3 separate regions of the Homo sapiens genome follow, and all the other regions are linked to region 1. The links are contacts of gene promoters, found by promoter capture Hi-C in human tissues and cell types (Jung and others, 2019). All regions are on one chromosome and are shown on one strand. The core of a region is centred on a gene start or on the middle of the fragment in contact, and the rest is flanking DNA. Distances in the headings are between cores, read along the strand shown.

Region 1 (4,105 bases), core at 826-3,325:
CTCAGGGTTCGCATCTCCGCGCCCGGGGTCCCGGCGCCCCGTGCCCGCTGAGAGCGGGAGGGGCCGCGGGTGGGAGCGCGGAGAACCAGGGAGCACGGCTGTGCGCGCGCGCGGGGAGGGGCCGCGCCGTCACCCGGAGAGCCCGGCGGATCCCGGACTCCCGCCCGCCGCTCCTCCCGCCGCGCACCTCCGCTCACCGCTCGCCCGGCTCCAGCCGCCGCCGCACTGTGAGTACCCACGTCCGGTAGCCCGCCGCCCCCGCGCTCTGCTCCTGCAGCTTTTTTTTCGTTTAGTTCTGATTTGGGCTCCTGTGGCTGTTGTTTTTATGATTATACCTAAAGACACCACCGCCTCGCTCCCACCACTGCCAGTCTCCCGCTTCGCTGCCCTCCCCAAGCTCGTCCATCTAGCTCCGGGAGCCGACGGGGGTTCCTCAAGCTGCTCTGGCTGCTGCTCCTTGTCGCTGCATATGGCTCTTCGCCTGTGCTTTCCGCTTTGGCCCCCGAAATTCCGTTCCTTTCCTAGGGACCCCCTTCTTCTGACTCCGGGCCCGGACCCCCCTCCTCTCACTCAGGGAAAACCGCGCAGGGACCCAGGACCCTCAACTGGGGTACGCTCTCGGCTCGGGCGCTGTCTTCACTGTATGCGGGCCAGGCATAGTTGCCGATTTCGAGAAACCGAGAAGCTGTCATTTCCCAGCGCTGCGCGCCCTCCAGCCACCTCCAGGAGGGCGCGAGGCTTGTCAGCCGGGGAGTTAGGACAGTGTTTTTGCCTCCTACAATGATATAAAGGACTTCAACGCGAAATAAGGGTCAACTTATTTTAGTTCGATCCTCGGAGATAAAGATGAAACAGACAGATAATACATAAATAGCTTGATACTTGAAGAAGGTACAAAACAGATGAGAGAAAGAGGAACGAGCCGGCAGAGACAGCTCAGGGACAGATAAGATCGACAAATGAGGGTCTCCTAGACAAATAGAGAAGAAGGGAGAGAGACAGATAAACAGAAGATTCCAGTCTCCTTGCTGAAGGCTTTTGAACTGGGATCCCCTGTCTGGAGCTGCCCCTCTGAAAACGGAGTTACATTCAGGGCCGACTGCAGGGGAGGAGCCCTCAGGGTTGGGCTGCCCTGGCCGCAGGAGCGCCTGCAGCCTTGGGCCGGATGGGAGCCTGGCTTGTCTGAGGACATGTGGCTGGGTCAGGCGACCTAGAGGGCCCCAAACATCAGTCCCCAAGTACCCCCGCTGCTGAGGTCTGCCTGCACAGCTCCCTCCCTGCCTCAGCCAGAAAGCAAAGTGCAAGGACCAGCAGCAACTTGTGTGCCTGGAGCCTTGCAATGGCTACGAAGATGGCTGAGATTCCTTCTAGCCCATATGAGCCGGGACAGCGAGGCATGAAGGATACTCAGAGAGGTGATGCCCCTCAAAGAGGAAGCCCAGAGCCCCGAATCCTGCAGTTGGCCCGAGTGGGAAACGTATATCTGAAGGAGGAAAGCTCAAGGAGTGGGCGACTGGAAGCTAAGAAGTGGATCCCAACAAAGTTCCTTGAGAACCTCTCTGTCCCACACGTTGACCTCGGTGGAAACCAGCTTTGGTCTGGAATACAGCTAAAAATGCAGAAAATGTGGTTAGAACTGCAGGATCCTGGTCTCACTAATAGCTGGAAAGAAAACGGTTTATATATCCAGCCGAAATCTTTCTGCTCAACGAACGCGGGCGCCAGCCGTGAGAGGAGAAGCTCGGGTTTGTGGAAACTGGCAATGTTGTCCCCTGAAGCCGGCTCGGGCACCAAGCTGGGTGCGGTGGGGGCCGCGCTAGGTCCGGGTGCGCACCGAGCGCTTTGGAGAGGGTCAGGTTCAGCACCGCGAACAGCGGTAGCCTCCGCCTCTCTCCTTCCCTGGCAGACACGGTTCCCTCCTCCTTCTCCTCACCCCCCTCCTTCTCTTCACCCCCCTCTACCCCCTGCTGTCTGGAGATGGGCAGTGACCGCCCCTCCCCCCTCCCCACCCCTCCTTGCACTGCCCCCGCCCGCCCGCGTGCATGCGCGACTGAGCAGAGGGGCGGCCGATCCCCGAAGTCCGGGCTTCAGGACCCGGGCCGGCAGCACCGGCTGCGAGGGTTGCCGAAGGCGCACGGATCTGGGCGCTGAAAAAGCCAGGATTTGGCAATGGCTTTGCTGTGTGGCCTTGGGCAAGTCACTCTGCGTATCTGGGTTTCACTTCCTTCCCAATCCGAAAACGGGATTGGGTTCCTTGCAGCCCGGGCATTCCTGAGGTCTCCTTTACCCCTTCTCCTCCCCCAAGCCCCGGGGGCTGTTGTTAACGGCGCCAACATGGGTCTGAGTAACAAAAGACGCCTGTCCAGGGGGTGAATGAGTTTGGACTCCCCACTGCCAAGTATCCCCCGCGCGCCCAACTCGGAGCGCCCTGCTGGGCGGGCCCGAGCCTCGGCGGCGGCGCTGAAAATGGCTCATCTGCTCTCTGCTTTCTCTATTTCGCAGGAGCGGCGGCATGGAGGCTCTCACCACTCAGCTGGGGCCGGGGCGCGAGGGCAGTTCCTCGCCCAACTCCAAGCAGGAGCTGCAGCCGTACTCGGGCTCCAGCGCTCTCAAACCCAACCAGGTGGGCGAGACGTCGCTGTACGGGGTGCCCATTGTGTCGCTGGTCATCGACGGCCAGGAGCGCCTATGCCTGGCGCAGATCTCCAACACCCTCCTCAAGAACTACAGCTATAATGAGATCCACAACCGCCGCGTGGCCCTGGGCATCACGTGCGTGCAGTGCACGCCGGTACAGCTGGAGATTCTGCGTCGGGCCGGGGCCATGCCCATCTCGTCGCGCCGCTGCGGCATGATCACTAAGCGAGAGGCCGAACGCCTGTGCAAGTCGTTCCTGGGCGAGCACAAACCACCCAAGCTGCCCGAGAACTTCGCCTTCGATGTGGTGCACGAGTGCGCGTGGGGCTCGCGTGGTAGCTTCATCCCTGCGCGTTACAACAGCTCTCGTGCCAAGTGCATCAAGTGCGGCTACTGCAGCATGTACTTCTCGCCCAACAAGTTCATCTTCCACTCGCACCGAACACCCGACGCCAAGTACACGCAGCCCGATGCCGCCAACTTCAACTCCTGGCGTCGTCACCTCAAACTCAGTGACAAGTCGGCCACAGACGAACTGAGCCATGCTTGGGAGGACGTCAAGGCCATGTTTAATGGCGGCACGCGCAAGCGGACCTTCTCCCTACAAGGAGGCGGCGGAGGCGGTGCCAATGGCGGGTCGGGTGGGCAGGGGAAGGGTGGTGCTGGCGGCGGTGGCGGCGGTGGCCCAGGGTGCGGTGCAGAGATGGCCCCAGGCCCGCCGCCCCACAAAAGCCTGCGCTGTGGCGAAGATGAGGCTGCCGGGCCTCCGGGGCCACCTCCACCCCACCCGCAGCGCGGACTTGGCCTGGCGACTGGAGCTAGTGGCCCGGCGGGCCCAGGAGGGCCCGGTGGCGGCGCCGGCGTACGAAGCTACCCGGTGATCCCGGTGCCCAGCAAAGGCTTTGGGCTCCTGCAAAAGCTGCCCCCACCACTTTTCCCCCATCCTTACGGCTTCCCTACGGCCTTCGGCCTATGCCCCAAAAAGGACGACCCGGTTTTAGGCGCGGGCGAGCCAAAGGGCGGTCCTGGCACTGGGAGCGGCGGCGGCGGCGCGGGGACAGGCGGGGGTGCGGGGGGCCCGGGAGCCAGCCACTTGCCCCCGGGGGCAGGGGCGGGCCCGGGCGGCGGCGCCATGTTCTGGGGGCATCAACCCTCCGGGGCAGCCAAGGACGCAGCGGCAGTGGCTGCAGCGGCCGCCGCCGCCACTGTGTACCCGACGTTTCCCATGTTCTGGCCAGCAGCAGGCAGCCTCCCGGTACCGTCCTACCCCGCTGCTCAGAGCCAAGCCAAGGCCGTGGCGGCAGCCGTGGCGGCGGCAGCGGCGGCGGCAGCGGCAGCTGCTGGCAGCGGTGCCCCAGAGCCCCTGGACGGTGCCGAGCCAGCCAAAGAGAGTGGCCTCGGCGCGGAGGAGCGCTGCCCGAGCGCTCTGTCCCGCGGGCCCCTGGACGAAGACGGCACGGACGAGGCG
Region 2 (4,105 bases), core at 1,050-3,549, 490 kb before region 1:
GCACATTCATAAAGCTGGTTTCTTTAATTTGCATCAGTCTCAATCTACCTTTCCAGTCTCATTCCCCCATCCTACCCTCCTTCTCATACCCATACCCTATACTCCAGTCACATAGAGCTCCTTCTCGTCAGTGAAATCTTCATGCATGAAATATGCTGTTTTGCACCATTGCTACCACTTTTACTACCTATAACTGCATCCTCTTCTCCACCTGATATAATTTAGTGCTTTATTTAAGATGCAATTTAAATGTCACTTACTGCAGTACATCTTAACTTTGGCTACGCATCAGAATCACCTGGGGAGCTTTCTAGAAATACTGAGGCCCAGGCCCCAGCCTACCTATTCTGAGTTAATTGCCCAGGGTTGGGTCCCAGGGTTGGGGCCCAGGCGGCAGTATTTTTAAAAAGCTCCCTGAGCGATTCTAATATACAGCCAGGGCTGAGAGTCGCTGCAAAGCCTTCTGCAATACAAGCAGGCAGAGTTAATTACTCCCTCTTCTATACTCCTACAGCCCTTAGCTTTTCCATTGCTCATGAAATTTAATGCTCAGCGTGTTAAAGTTAGTGTTATATAGTAAGTGCTCAGTAAATGCTGAAGGTTGTTTCATTCCTTCACCCTCCAACCAAGCATACGCAGAAGTGATTATCCTTACCATGGAAGAGGACAGCAGAGTGGACAGATGTTTCCTATCCAGTGACACTATCTGAGGGATTTATTTCTGTCAACGAAAACACCACCTTCCATTCTCCAACACATACACACACACACACGTGCACACACACACACTACACACACAGTCACCTCACTGCCTTTTCAGCATAGTTCTTCGGTCTGGTTTTTACATTGTTTAGATTGATGCAATTGAAAGAATTAAAGCAGTGTGATGAATGTGCTGATTGCCTGACAGAGTCTGAACATCACTTGCCTACTGTCCTCTCCTTTGTGTCATCCTTTATGTTGTGTTTTATGTTCGATCCTGCTACTTTAGCTTGTCAGAGCAGGTTGTCAGGTGTTCTTTGTCAAAGGCTTTGAGAAAATCCGGATAAATTATCCTCTTTGTCCTGAAACTGCCAAACCTATATTTTACATCATCACAGTGCTTGACAGTTTTATTTAAGTTGAATCTTTCTCTCTTCCTCCGATTTACCTTTGTCTCACTGACCTTTATATCAATCAGACAAGTGGAGACCCTGCCGCTTTTGATATTGAATATTCTCAGCTATGTACATGCCTGCTAGAGCACAGTGCATTGGATATCTCAGCCTTACTGATTAGGAGGAGATCCTGGAAGCTACTCATGTCTGGAGATGAGGTGGGGAGAGGAGAGCTGAGGATAAGGGCAAGAAACCAATGTGGATCAGGAAGACCAGAGTCTCATAATAAATAAATCTTCTTATGAGTCCTGCACTCTCATTAAGGCGAGGCTGGTAGCACCTCCCTTTCCCCTTCTGACTCACCTGGGGAGAAACAGATTGCACTAACAGTCTACTCTTTCCTATTCAAAATACTATTTTTATTTATTTACCAAACATCATCAAAGTGTTTGATGTTCATGGTGTTACCACATCCTGGCAGTGGGGGCCCTAACCCTTTGTCCAGACATTTCTCAGCTAATAGATACTTATTTTGTAAAGTGATTTTCTCCCTCTGGTCTTGATGAAGCTTTCCCTTTCTTTTTCCTTAAAGTCACTATGACCTTAATGGCAATAAGGTATTGTGCAACCGAGTCCAATGGCAAATTTTACCAATGTAAAATCAGATTAATTTCAGAATTGAATAATCTGTGCATATCTAGTATACTGCATGGCCTGAAACAAATTTCTAATCTTTCTGTCTTGAGTTCTTTATTAGTTAAATAGCAAACTGTTACCTAGTTCCCTTGGAAGTTATGTAAATTAATTAATGTTTGGAAAATGACTTGAAAATTCAGTCTATAAATACCAAACTATAAATACCAAAGTTGCATTTTCCCTGCTGAGAGAACCCAGGTAATTCATAAACTCCTACGATAAAGGTAAAAATAGTATAGTTGGACTATACAATCAAATGTGATTTATATGCAATATATGTAATCTTTAAAATCTAGAAACCATTTAATAGAAACAATTCATATTTTGTAACTGTAATAAAAGCATTTTATGACTTTAGGAAAAGTAATTATCTTCTCTAACTGATCTAGATATTGTGTCTTTGTAACCATCTCTGAGATCTGCAAAAGAATCTACCCAGAATTAATATTGATTGACATGTTTATCTTTTAAGTCTTCCAGGTTTTTTGTTTTAACATTAACACTCTAACATTTATTTCCTGGGAAATTTTTTGGTACAAAACTTTGCTGTATTCAAAACCTCCTCTGTCAAGATTTAGCATTTGTATATTGTAGTCATTAAAATTGAACAAAATCTTAATAGTTCTTTTATTAACTACTATGTTGACTTTATATAGTGGAAATCACAACTTGTTAATTGGATTTAATTAACTATTTTAAATTACACAAACTCCTGATGGTAGTAGACAATAGCACAGGGTATTCATGAGCAATAAAATTGGAGCTGATATTGCTACTTTATTAAAACTTAATGCAACTATTCATAACTTTATTTATTGTTTACAAGAAGAAAACTGTTCACTGTGAAGGCAAAAATGTTTGCTGAAACAAATTTTTTATTATCTAGATAAAGGTTTCGAAGTTAATCAAAGGGTCTAACATATCCAGCCTCACGGTTCTGCCATCTTCTCATTGCACAGATCCCTATTTCACTCCTATACCAGTCTTACAAGCAGATGCCCACAAAGGTTAGTGATTCAATAGCCATTTTACGTGTTTAGGAACGGAAAAGAAAGAGCATTGAGGTAGGATCGGAGGCCTGAATTTGGACTCTGGCTCAGCCACTAATTCTCCTGGGTGGCCTCAGACAAGTCAGGTCCTCACTCTGGTCTGAGTTTCCTGCTCTGTAAATTAAAAGGTTGGACAAGACGATCACTAGAGTCCCTTCCACCTGTAAAATTCATCATTCTATGGATTTAATATTGATTTAGATGGTGTTATTACCTATTAAAATGATCATTGTGTTTATGTGATAGCATTAGAATTTATTAAGTTTCTGAGCAGATCATTTTTGATATATTATTCTGGTAGCATTTTAAAAATTTATTTCAATACCCTATTATAAGGAAATATGAAGCCAGAATTAATGTAATTAGTGTTTAAACTATGCATGTTTTAGTCTAAACTCTAGTCTTGTGAAACCAGTGGATTTTGTTTTTAAGCAAAGGATTTCATCTTTATCTCAGTATCTCTAGCACCTAGAACCATATCCAGCATTTTGTAGATACTAAGTGTAGATTGAGTGAATAAGAAAATGAAAGAATAAGCAAGCGAGTGACCAAATACTGAATGTCCTAAGTGTAACCATCTCTACTGTTCCCTGCTATTTAATTTAATTGACCAAAGTGTTAAAAAATGCCTAAGTGGATCCCTTTCCTATCTCAAATATAACTTAGTGAGACGGTCTTTAATTATTCCTTATCTCGCCTTCTATCTGTTGTCTGGAATTTTTAGGACCCAAAGCTGGTTCCCAAAGGTTCTTCTGCCACCTGGAAATTCAAAGTCCTCCAGCTTCTAGCTACTGCATCTTCTGTCTGCTGGTGGTAGATAACCTGAGATCATTATAAATCTCTGGATTTGTTAAGCTTCTCACAACTTTCCTGGTTATAAACCATTGTTCAGCAATCTTTGTGACATATGCTTTCTAGTTAGCTTATGTAATATTTACTTCCTGGGAATACTGAATAACACCAGCAGAGTGTTCCCATTTCTTGCTTTAATACCATCTTATATTCTTCCTGAACCAAATTAGGATGAATGAAATAGTGAATGAATGAATGAATCGATATATCTGTCTGTCTATCTATCTATCTATCTATCTATCTATCTATCTATCTATCTGTCTGCTCTGCTTTAGCAATAGAGACAATAAAAAAATGCCACAAAATAAAAGTAAATGTAGAATTTTGGCAACTTCATCCAGAAAAAAAATCACATTTTCATTTCTAAATTATCTTCATGAGAACACATGGCCTACTGTCATATTAGGGATT
Region 3 (4,105 bases), core at 570-3,069, 460 kb before region 1:
AGACTCATTCTCTCTCATAAAACTTCATTTAACTTACCATCTTAAAGGAAGAAGAGAAAAGAAAAATCCAGACACGGAAAAAAAAACAAACAAACAACCCCTGTGGAATCTTTTTTAAAAAACACAAATCTTGATTTTTTTTTTTTTTTTTTTAGATGGAGTCTTGCTCTCTCACCCAGGTGGGAGTGCAGTGGCATGATCTCGGCTCACTGCCACCTCTGCCTCCCTAGTTCAAGCGATTCTCCTGCCTCAGCCTCCCAAGTAAGTGGGACTAGAGGCGTGCACCACCACACCCAGCTAAATTTTTTTTTTTTTTGTATTTTTAGTAGAGATGGGGTTTCACCATGTTGGTCAGGCTGGTCTCAAACTCCTGACCTCAAATGATCTGCCCACCTCAACCTCCCAAAGTGCTGGGATTACAGGCGTGAGCCACCATTCCCAGCCTAATTTTTATTTTTTCAACTTTTAGGTTCAGAAATACATTTGCAGATTTGTTACATAGGTATTAATAAGCTGTGTGTCATGGGGATTTGGTGTACAGATTATTTCATCACCCAGGTAATAAGCATAGTACCCAATAGCTCATTTTTGGATCCTCACCCTCTTCCTACCCTCCACCCTCAAGTAGGCCCCTGTGTCATTCCCTTCTTTGTGTCCATGTGTACTCAATGTTTAGCTCCTACTTATAAGTGAGAACATGCAGTATTTGGTTTTCTGTTCCTGTGTTATTTTGCTTAGGATAATAGCCTCCAGCTCTATCCATGTTGCTTCAAATAACATGACCTCTTTCTTTTCCATGGCTGCATAGTATTCCATGGTATATATGTACCACATTGTCTTTATCCAGTCTACTATTGATGGTAATTTAGGTTGATTCCATGTCTTTGCTATTGTGAATAGTGCTGCAGTGAACATAACACATGCATGTGTCTTTATGGTAGAATGATTTATAGTCCTTTGGGTATATACCCAATAAGGGGATTGCTGGGTCGAGTGGTAATTCTGTTTTAAGTTCTTTGAGAAGTCACTAAACTGCTTTCTATAATGGCTGAACTAATTTACATTCCCACTGGCAGTGTATAAGCATTCCCTTTTCTCTGCAACCTCACCAGCATCTGTTATTTTTTGACCTTTTTATAATAGTCATTCTGACTGGTATGAGATGGTATCTCATTGTGGTTTTGATTTGCATGTAGAATCTTTTAAAAAGAGTTACCATTTTCTCTAATTCATTAGAAATTGCCATCCTCACCTATGCGTTTTCATCATTAAACTTTCCAAATGAATTGAAATTATATAGTTTTATTTGCCAAACAATTTTTTTGAAATTCTTGTGGAACAATTTTTCTTGTAATTACCGAGAAAAACTACAAGGACTGTTTTTACTACTTTTCATAGCATTGTCTAACTGAACATTTTTATTACATGTGATTAATAATTTTGCTTATATACAACAGAAAAAAGGTTAAATTATCAGCCAACAAGATAATCTGTATTTTTTCACTTTATCTCTTTCATTGATCAATTGTGACCTGATCATTCATAGAAAATTTGGAAAATTCAGAAAAGAGAAAAAAAGTATAGAAGGATTTTTTTCCCCATATCACAATCCTTTGGTACTATTTAAACTTTGGCATATTCTTTTATTGGTATTATACTGTATATTCAACTCTGGTTTTACTCTTTTCATCTAATAGTTTATCATAAACCTTTACATATATGATTTAAAATTCATAAAACATTTTTAGTGGCTTTATAATATCTTTATTAAAGATATACCATAATTTTCATCCTATTGCTTGACATTAAATTATAAATGTTACATTATTAATAAATAATTGTTTTTGTTCTTGTTTTGAGATGCGGTCTCTCTCTGTCACCTAGTCTGCAGTGCAGTGGCACGATTGTGGCTCACTGCAGCCTTGACCTGCCGGGGCTCAAGCAGTCCTCCCACCTCACAGTCCTGAGTAGCTGGGACTACAGGCATATGCCACCACGCCCAGCTAATTTTTCTGGCATTTCTTTGTCGAGATGGGGTTTTACCATGTTGCCCAGGCTGGTCTGGAACTCGTGGACTCAAGTGATCTGCCTGCCTTGACCTCCCAAAGTGCTGGGATTATAGGCATGAGCCACCACACCTAGCCTGTGGAACTTCTTGATCAAAGGGTATGGACATTTTTGTATCTCAGTAGCCAAACTTTGCATTAGTGCTCCAAAACTCAAGCTATAAGTTTGCAAATAACTTGTATGATCATAGAACAGCTTTGTGCTGTGAACCCAGTCCAACTGGCTATAAGCTTAAATTTTAGTATTCACACTTTCATACATTCATTCATTCAACTAATCCTTTTTGACCTTTACCGTGTGCCAGGCAGTGTACTAGATAGGCACTGGGGACACAACAATGAATGAAGCAAACCTAGTCCTTGTCCTCTTGGGGTTTATATTTTAGTGAGAGAGGCAATAATCAGATATTTAATATAATATCAAAGAGTGAGATAAGTGCTATGAAGAAAAATAAACCAGAATACATATGTAGGTATAGAAGCCACGCACGGTGGCTCACGCCTGTAATCCCAGCACTTTGGGAGGTCATGGCATGCAGATCACTTGAGGTCAGGAGTTCAAGACCAGCCTGGACAACATGGTGAAACCCTATCTCTACTAAAAATATAAAAGTTAGCCGGGTGTGGTGGCGCGTGCCTGTAATCCTGGCTGCTCAGGAAGCTGAGGCAGGAGAATCACTTGAACCTGGGAGGTGGAGGTTGCAGTGAGCTGAGATTGCACCACTGCACACTAGCCTGGGCAGCAGAGGAAGACTCTGTCTCAAAAACAAAAAAAGAATACATATGTAGGTATAGAGAATATGACAAGGTGGAGCTCTGTAGGAATTTTGCAAGTGTTCTTTAGTGATTTGGATCAAGGAACGTACTAGATCCACATTTTTCTCAGGAAACATGGAATGTCAAGCTTTACTTTGGTGATAATAGCAGTCCTTTTTGAGGCTTGCTCTTTTTCCCATACGTGTAGAGAAAATTATGATGTGTCTTTGCTCAGAGATCTGGGAATCCAGGCTGCTTTTGATTCCCATCCTGTCAGGCTTCCTGTCCACATCCCCAGCAGGTTCAACCCATCCATCATAATTGTCCCCAGTGGTCCTTAACTATGTCACATTTTCTCAGAGAATATTAGAGGTATAACAGAAAAGATGAAATCAATGCAGCAGTAAAATGAAATGTGTCTCTAGAAGGAAATTTCACATTTGACTGAAAATAGACCATCTATTTACAAAATCTTCTTGATTCTATTCTGTTTGATCTTCAACCAGATTTTGATCCATCGTGTGTTTTTGTTCCATGAGAATGCATCAAAGGATGGGGATTTTTCTCCTCAGGAAGTGTTTCAGAGTTCAGGAAGACTCATTTGAATAAAGATACCTTTCAAAGCAATTGCAGAAATTATTCCTAGAAAATTGCTGCTGATCTGAGTGGCCTTTACGCTCAAGTCTCTTCTTTTATATATCTCTGCTCGATGAGTTCTGTTTTTGCCTTTTATTCTCTTTGTAAAGGTTAAGGACTCTGACTTCCACTTTTAATTGGCACTTAAGGATTACTTAGACAGTTTCTAGATATTATGAACTGAGAGCCATTGACTTGCAGGCCCCAGAATACTGGAACACTACTCTTTGGGGTTCTCTCCCCATGACCACCTTTACCATTAGGTGGTGTGGGCAGTCGTTCATCTATTTTGATTTCAGAGTTACTAGAAAGAGTTTTCTATCTGAAAAATAGAATACGAAAAAAATCCCCCAGGTTTTTTTCATGGTGCATAAAGTGATGCCATTGGAGATAGTTGCCTTTGATTTGATGGCTTTACTGGCTCCAGAAGTTTATTAAAAAGCCAATACCCCTGCAGGGGTGACACATTAAGTCAGAGAGGCGTAGGGTATCAAAATTAGAAGTGCCCTGAGTGATCTCTTAATGGAAACTGAAACCCACAGAAGTGGCTTCCCAAGGCCACAGAGGAAGGTGGTAACAGACTAGATTCTGGGTCTTGTTGCTTCTGATACACCACACTATGTTATGTTCATTAGCACAGTGATAGG

The links. Contacts are between HindIII fragments. The study calls those that stand out against the background at their distance.
Region 2: a contact is called between a fragment that was not itself captured here and the fragment with the promoter of SKOR1 in region 1, in 1 of the 25 tissues and cell types used here (spleen).
Region 3: a contact is called between a fragment that was not itself captured here and the fragment with the promoter of SKOR1 in region 1, in 1 of the 25 tissues and cell types used here (lymphoblastoid cells).

Annotation. Positions count from the first base shown.
Region 1 is chr15:67,823,434-67,827,538 of GRCh38, forward strand. SKOR1 (SKI family transcriptional corepressor 1) reads left to right here and starts at 2,076. Exons shown (of 9, transcript NM_001365915.1): 1 at 2,076-2,276; 2 at 2,503-4,105. The coding sequence starts at 2,170. LOC124903570 reads left to right here. Exons shown (of 4, transcript XM_047433429.1): 1 at 1-6; 2 at 526-610; 3 at 1,206-1,969; 4 at 2,080-2,151. The coding sequence ends at 2,151. RefSeq lists enhancers at 3,344-3,982, 3,983-4,105. The HindIII fragment of the contact is 30,837 bases long and covers 1-4,105 here.
Region 2 is chr15:67,334,296-67,338,400 of GRCh38, forward strand. IQCH (IQ motif containing H) reads left to right here. Exons shown (of 21, transcript NM_001031715.3): 5 at 2,680-2,800. Among named protein-coding and RNA genes, the nearest start is that of IQCH, 82 kb to the left of the region's middle. The HindIII fragment of the contact is 3,489 bases long and covers 556-4,044 here.
Region 3 is chr15:67,363,102-67,367,206 of GRCh38, forward strand. All of the region lies in intron 8 of IQCH (IQ motif containing H), which reads left to right. Among named protein-coding and RNA genes, the nearest start is that of IQCH, 110 kb to the left of the region's middle. The HindIII fragment of the contact is 3,882 bases long and covers 1-3,760 here.